Linked DNA regions of Homo sapiens: region 2 is linked to region 1. Evidence: promoter capture Hi-C in human tissues and cell types (Jung and others, 2019). All regions are on one chromosome and are shown on one strand. Each heading gives the region's core, a stretch centred on a gene start or on the middle of the fragment in contact. The rest is flanking DNA. Distances are from core to core; before and after follow the strand shown. Region 1 holds the start of RBP1 (retinol binding protein 1). Region 2 has its middle 100 kb from the start of TRIM42.

Evidence for each region. Contacts are between HindIII fragments. The study calls those that stand out against the background at their distance.
Region 2: a fragment that was not itself captured here is called in contact with the fragment with the promoter of RBP1 in region 1 in 1 of the 25 tissues and cell types used here (IMR-90 fibroblasts).

What each region holds. Positions count from the first base shown.
Region 1 is chr3:139,538,145-139,541,107 of GRCh38, reverse strand. It overlaps RBP1 (retinol binding protein 1), which reads left to right and starts at 1,366. Exons shown (of 4, transcript NM_002899.5): 1 at 1,366-1,648; 2 at 2,149-2,327. The coding sequence starts at 1,390. All of the region lies in intron 3 of COPB2-DT (COPB2 divergent transcript), which reads right to left. RefSeq lists an enhancer at 2,291-2,963. The HindIII fragment of the contact is 8,428 bases long and covers 1-2,963 here.
Region 2 is chr3:140,781,327-140,784,289 of GRCh38, reverse strand. No RefSeq gene overlaps it. Among named protein-coding and RNA genes, the nearest start is that of TRIM42, 100 kb to the right of the region's middle. The HindIII fragment of the contact is 4,455 bases long and covers 1-2,963 here.

The DNA.
Region 1 (2,963 bases), core at 117-2,616:
TCTAGGGAAAGAGGGTGAGAAGCGCTGAAATCCAAGTTGCTGCCTGGGAGGAAGCTGTCTCTACCCTGAGGAAGAGGCTCCTTTTCCTAATTCAGCCTGCACTGTGAGAACACATGTGAGCCCCAGGGAGGCACCCTGGGGAAGGTGGTGCTAGAGGGGAAGAAAATGTTATCTGCTGTCACTTAGGCTGTGATTTGTGCAAAAAGCGATTTAAAAGAGGTAGTCAAAAAGAGGGTCAAAAAGTCAGCCCATGTGATTATGTCATCTACTTGGTGGCAAATGCAGTTAAACCACAATGACATACCCACGCAGGTGACAAAGGAGATGTGATCAAAGATTTTCATTGCAGTACTGCTTTTAATAGTGAAAGATCAGAAACAATATAGTTTGTCCATCAGGGGACAAGCTGGATAAGCAATGGAATACTCCGTAAAATAATGGGGATACTTTCTATGTACAGCTATGGAAAAGTCTCCAGAATATATTAAGTGAATAAAGCAAAGTCCAGAACACCGTGGAGTACAGTGCTGCCATTAGGTGAAACGGGAGGAAACATTAATAAACAGTATATTGCTTACATTTGCATAAAGCAGCAGTGGATCTCAAAGTTGATTGTGCATCAGAATCACCCAGAAGGCTTTTTTAGCCACATGCACTTCAAATAACATCAACTATTTTACTTATTTATTTATTTATTTATTGAGCCAGAGTCTCACTCTGTCGCCCAGGCTGGAGTGTAGTGGCACGATCTCGGCTCACTACAACCTCCTCCTCCCGGGTTCAAGCTATTCTCCTGCCTCAGCCTCCCGAGTAGTTGGGACTACAGGCGCCCGCGACCACGCCCGGCTAATTTTTTGTATTTTTAGTAGAGACGAGGTTTTACCGTGTTGCCCAGGCTGGTGTCGAATTCCTGACCTCAGGTGATCCGCCCGCCTCGGCCTCCCAAAGTGCTGGGATTACAGGCGTGAGCCGCCGTGCCCGGCATCCTTTCTTTTATTTTCGGGAGAGACGTGGAAAGTGCCCCAATTTTCTCGCCCGTAGTTGAACCTCCCAGCTTTCCTGACCCCAGCCACCACCGGCGCGAGGCTTTAGACAAAGGCCTGTAAGTGGCCTCTTTCCTTAATCACGCCAGCACAAACCCCAGGAGATTGTTTCCCAACTCCCGAGTGGCTGCTGAGTGTGAGAAGTTAATGGCGTTTGAAGGAAATCCCCAGCAGCCGAAGAGTTCGGCCAACAAAGCAAACGTCCCGTCTCCGGTCTCCTCTTCCTTTGTAGGGGAAACGAACTGAACGTCTGAAACGAAGGTGGCGCGGCCTGGACAAACCTGACCCTTCGACATCCCCCGCCCCTGCGCCCGCCCTCGCTAAGCGGGGAGGAGCGACCGCTACAATGGATCCTCCCGCAGGCTTTGTGCGCGCTGGGAATCCAGCTGTCGCCGCCCCGCAGAGCCCCCTGTCCCCGGAGGGCGCTCATTTCCGGGCCGCCCACCACCCGCGTAGCACCGGCAGCCGCTGTCCCGGCAGTCTCCAGCCGTCCCGCCCGCTTGTGGCCAACTGGCTCCAGTCACTCCCCGAAATGCCAGTCGACTTCACTGGGTACTGGAAGATGTTGGTCAACGAGAATTTCGAGGAGTACCTGCGCGCCCTCGGTAAGCGCTGCCCGCTGCGCCCTGGGCGCCCCGCCGAGCAGCTCCGGGCCGCTCCCTAGAGCCCTCCCGAGACGCTGCCTGCCTGCCTCCATCCCGGCGAGCCGCGGTCCGGTGCCCCCGGACGCCAGAAAGGGCGTCCTCGGCCACCGCTCCCAGGGCAGCCCCCAGGCTGCAGATTGGAGAATTCGGGGTTGTTAGGTTAACCGGTGGCAAATGTCTGCTCGTTGGCCCTGGAGGTGGGTAATTTCATTAGTAAATCTGGGGCTTGGTTTGCTACTTTTTGTTTTTAAACGGTTAACATAAGAGCAGAAAACTTTGTTGGGGGCGGCAGGGGAGGCACAGGCAGGCTGTGCGCAGAGACAACGCAAAGCCAGCGGGAACCCTAACAGTGTTCGCGGGCGGAGAGGGCTCCTGGGGCCCCGCTACCTTGGGAACGGTTCTCTGAGTTTCCCTGCCAACTCTCTGGCGCTCTCTCTCTCCCCGTTCAACCCCCACCGCAGACGTCAATGTGGCCTTGCGCAAAATCGCCAACTTGCTGAAGCCAGACAAAGAGATCGTGCAGGACGGTGACCATATGATCATCCGCACGCTGAGCACTTTTAGGAACTACATCATGGACTTCCAGGTTGGGAAGGAGTTTGAGGAGGATCTGACAGGCATAGATGACCGCAAGTGCATGGTGAGGATTCGCGTCCACCTGGTGTCTCCTGCCCAGGGGGCCTGACCAAGGGCTGGGCTAGTTCATCCGAGAGGGGGCAAGGGCCTGAGGGACTGAAAACTCTTCCCACTCTCAGCCCCCATGGTGGGCAGCACCAACTCATGAAGCATCCTGCTCTATCTACACTGGAAGGTGATGGTTATGAAGGCTGCCATGTGCTGTGTCTCCACTGCGTTCAGGCACTCTGCCCGGTGCTTTATGCACATGACTTCACCTAAGCCTCACACAGCCTTTGAGGGAGATATGAATATGCCCATTTTACAGATGAAGAAACAGTCTCAAAGAGATGAAGTAACATGTCCAGAGTAGCACAGCTAGGGAGGGTCTGGAGTTCAAAGCATGTCTGTTGATGCCGTTCTCTGGCTGACTGGGCTGGTGGAGGGTAAAAGAAAAGAAAGGAGGAAAGAAAAAAGAAACACAGGTAACCCCTTTGAAGTGTAAACTTTCAGTATGACTTAGTGTGAAGTCACTCCAGGAAGCTGGGGGCCCCTTGATCTCTGCTGGAAGCCCCCTGATCTGCCCATCCTTGCCCCAGAGCTGGGATTTGGCTCCTGGCCATCCCCTGCCCCACCCTGTCATCCAATGCCTACTGAGCAT
Region 2 (2,963 bases), core at 140-2,639, 1.2 Mb before region 1:
TGTGGGGCTATTTAAATGATCTATTTCATATTGGGTGAGTTGTGGTAGTTTGAGTTTTCTGAGGAATTAATCTATAATCTCTAAATTGTCAAATTTCTGTATGTGGAGTTATTCAGAATATTCCCTTATTATCCTTTTGATGTCTGTAGTAATATCTTCTGTTTCATTCCTGTTACTGGTAATTTGTGTCTTCTTTTTATTTCTTTGTCACTCTTGCTAGAGGCTTTTAGATATTTATTGATTTTTTTTTAAGAAACTTCTCTTTGTTTCACTGATTTGCTCTACTATTTTTCTGTTTTCAATTTTATAAATTTCTGTCTTCATCTTTCTTATTATCTTTCTTCTGCTTGTTTTGGGTTTATTTCACTCTTCTTTTTCTAGATTCTTGAGGTGCGAGATTAGATTGATTTGAGATTTTTTTCTTTTTTAGTGCTAAAAATTTTCATTTCAGCATGCTTTCACTGTGTTCCACAAAGTTTGAGTTGTTCATTTTTATTTTTATTCAGCTTAGTGTATTTTTAAAATTTATCTTGTAGCTCCTGCTTTATCCCATAAATTATTTAAATGCATGTTGTTTAGGCTCTGGGTGTTTGGAGACTATTATCTTTCTGCTACTGATTTGTAGTTTTATTCCATTGTCCTCAGATAATATACTTGGTATGACTTCAGTCATTTTAAATTTGTTGTGATTTGTATAATTTGTTTGCCCAGGAGATGATCTTTCTTTATATTTGTGCCATTGGCACTTGCAAAGAATATGTATTTTGCTGTTGTTGTGGGAAGCATCCTATAAATCTTTATTAGATATGGTTGGTCGGTGGTGCTACTGAGTTTTATATCCTTGCTGATCTTCTGTCCAGTTATTCTATCAATTGTTGAGAGAGAGGTGTTAAAGTTTTCCAGTAAAATTGTGGATTTGTCTATTTATCTTTTCATTTCTATCAGATTTTGCTTCAATTATTTTATGTCCCTGTTGTTTGGCACATATACATATAGGATTACTATGTCTTTTGGTAAATTGACCCTTTTTGTCATTACATAATGTTTCTCTCTATCTTTAGTAATTTTCTTTACTTTGATGTCTTCTCTGTCTAATAATATAGCCACTCTGCTTTCTTTTTATTAATGTTTACATGATTATCTATCATCTACTATCTACCACTTTCTTTTACTTTCTACTATCTACCATTTTCTTTTACTTTCAACCTGCCTATATTCAAATACAACCTTGTAATATTTGACATGAGTTACATGTAGATAGTATATGTTGGGGTCATGTTTTTAAATCTATGCTGTCAATATGTCTTTAACATGTTTAGACTATTTACATTTAATGTAATTATTATGTTAGATCTTAAGTTTGCCATTTAATTTTTTGTTTTCCTTTGTTCTCTTTTTTGTTTCTGTTTACGTTTTTCTGCCTTCTTGTGGGTTACTTAAACATTCTATAGAATTCCATTTTGATTATCTATTCGTATCTATTCTTAAGTATGTCTTTTTAGATAGCTTTTTAGGTGGCTGCTGTAGGTATTACATTATATGCACATAACACAGTCTCCTGGTGTGTCATTTTACCAGTTCAAGTGAAGTATGCAAACCTTACCTCCCTCTGTGTCACTTTATCCACTTTCATTTATAATATAATTTTCTTATTTTCTTGACATGCATTTAGAACTATATCACAGAGTGTTATAATTTTTTCTTTAAATTTCAAATATGATTTAGAAAACTCAAGAGAAAAGTATTATATTTTCTCCTATGTTCAGTTACTGTGTTTCTTCTTCCTGCTGGATGTTTCAAAGTGCCTTCTTTTATCATTTCCTTCCTGTTTAAAGATCTTCCTTTAAGCTTTGTTTTTGGATAAGTCTGTTGGAGACAGATTCTTTTGTTTTCCTTCATCTGAAAATTTCTTAATTTCCCTTCATTCATAAAGAATATTTTCATTGCATATAGGCTTCTGGGTTAACAGGTCTTTCAGAACTTGAAAAATACGTCATTATTTTCTGGCCTTCATGGTTTCTGATGAGAAATTCATTGTCATTTGAACTGTTTTCTACCTATAGATAAGTTAGATAAGTTGTTATTTCACTCTTGCTGCTTTTAAGACATTTTGTTTGTCTTTAGTTTTCCACAGTTTGAGTATAAAGTACCTAGGTGTGGATTTCTTTAGATTTATCTTCTCTGGGTCTTGCCAGAGAAGGAGAGAGGTGGATCAGAGAGGGAACTTAACACATATAAGTAATCAGGAGTCTTTGGGTCAGAGCGCTGTGAATGGGATTGTTATCACTGCTGGTTTTATCTTATCTATGATTAGTAGATGTTTGGTACAGTTTCATAGGCTATGCAAAGCAGACAGGCTCTAAATGGCTAACAGTCTGCTTCTTTGAGCTGTGTTTGAAGTAACTGGATTTGTAAAACTTGAGTTTGATACTAGTTGGCTTTTGAGTGAATTAATCTCAGCCTTCTGTGAAGAAGTAAACAAGCCAGGGGCCAATACACAGAGGTCATATTTGGCTCATTTATGTAACACAGATGACACTTCCTTAAGTCTTCTCTGACATCACCTCTGACACCTTGGGTGCTGAGCTTCCTAGCTTGTCTGCTTTCTTATTTACACTTTCAGTCTTCTTATCTTTATCTTCTATGTAAAATGTAGAGTGTTTTTAGTTGTATTTAGAGGAGGCAATAGGGAAAAGTACATCTACTCCATCTCCTGGAAGTGCAAGTCCCAGGACATTCCTTTATATTATTGGGTAGAGTATTAGGTCGTTCTCACACTGCTATAAATAAATACCTGAGACTGGGTTATTTATAAAGAAAAGAGGTTTAATTGGCTCATGGTTCTGCAGGCTGTACAGGAAGCATAGTGACATCTGCTTCTGGGGAGGCCTCAGGGAGCTTTTAATCATGGCAGATGGCAAAGGGTGAGTGAGGCAGCTTACATGGCAGGAACAAGAGGAGGA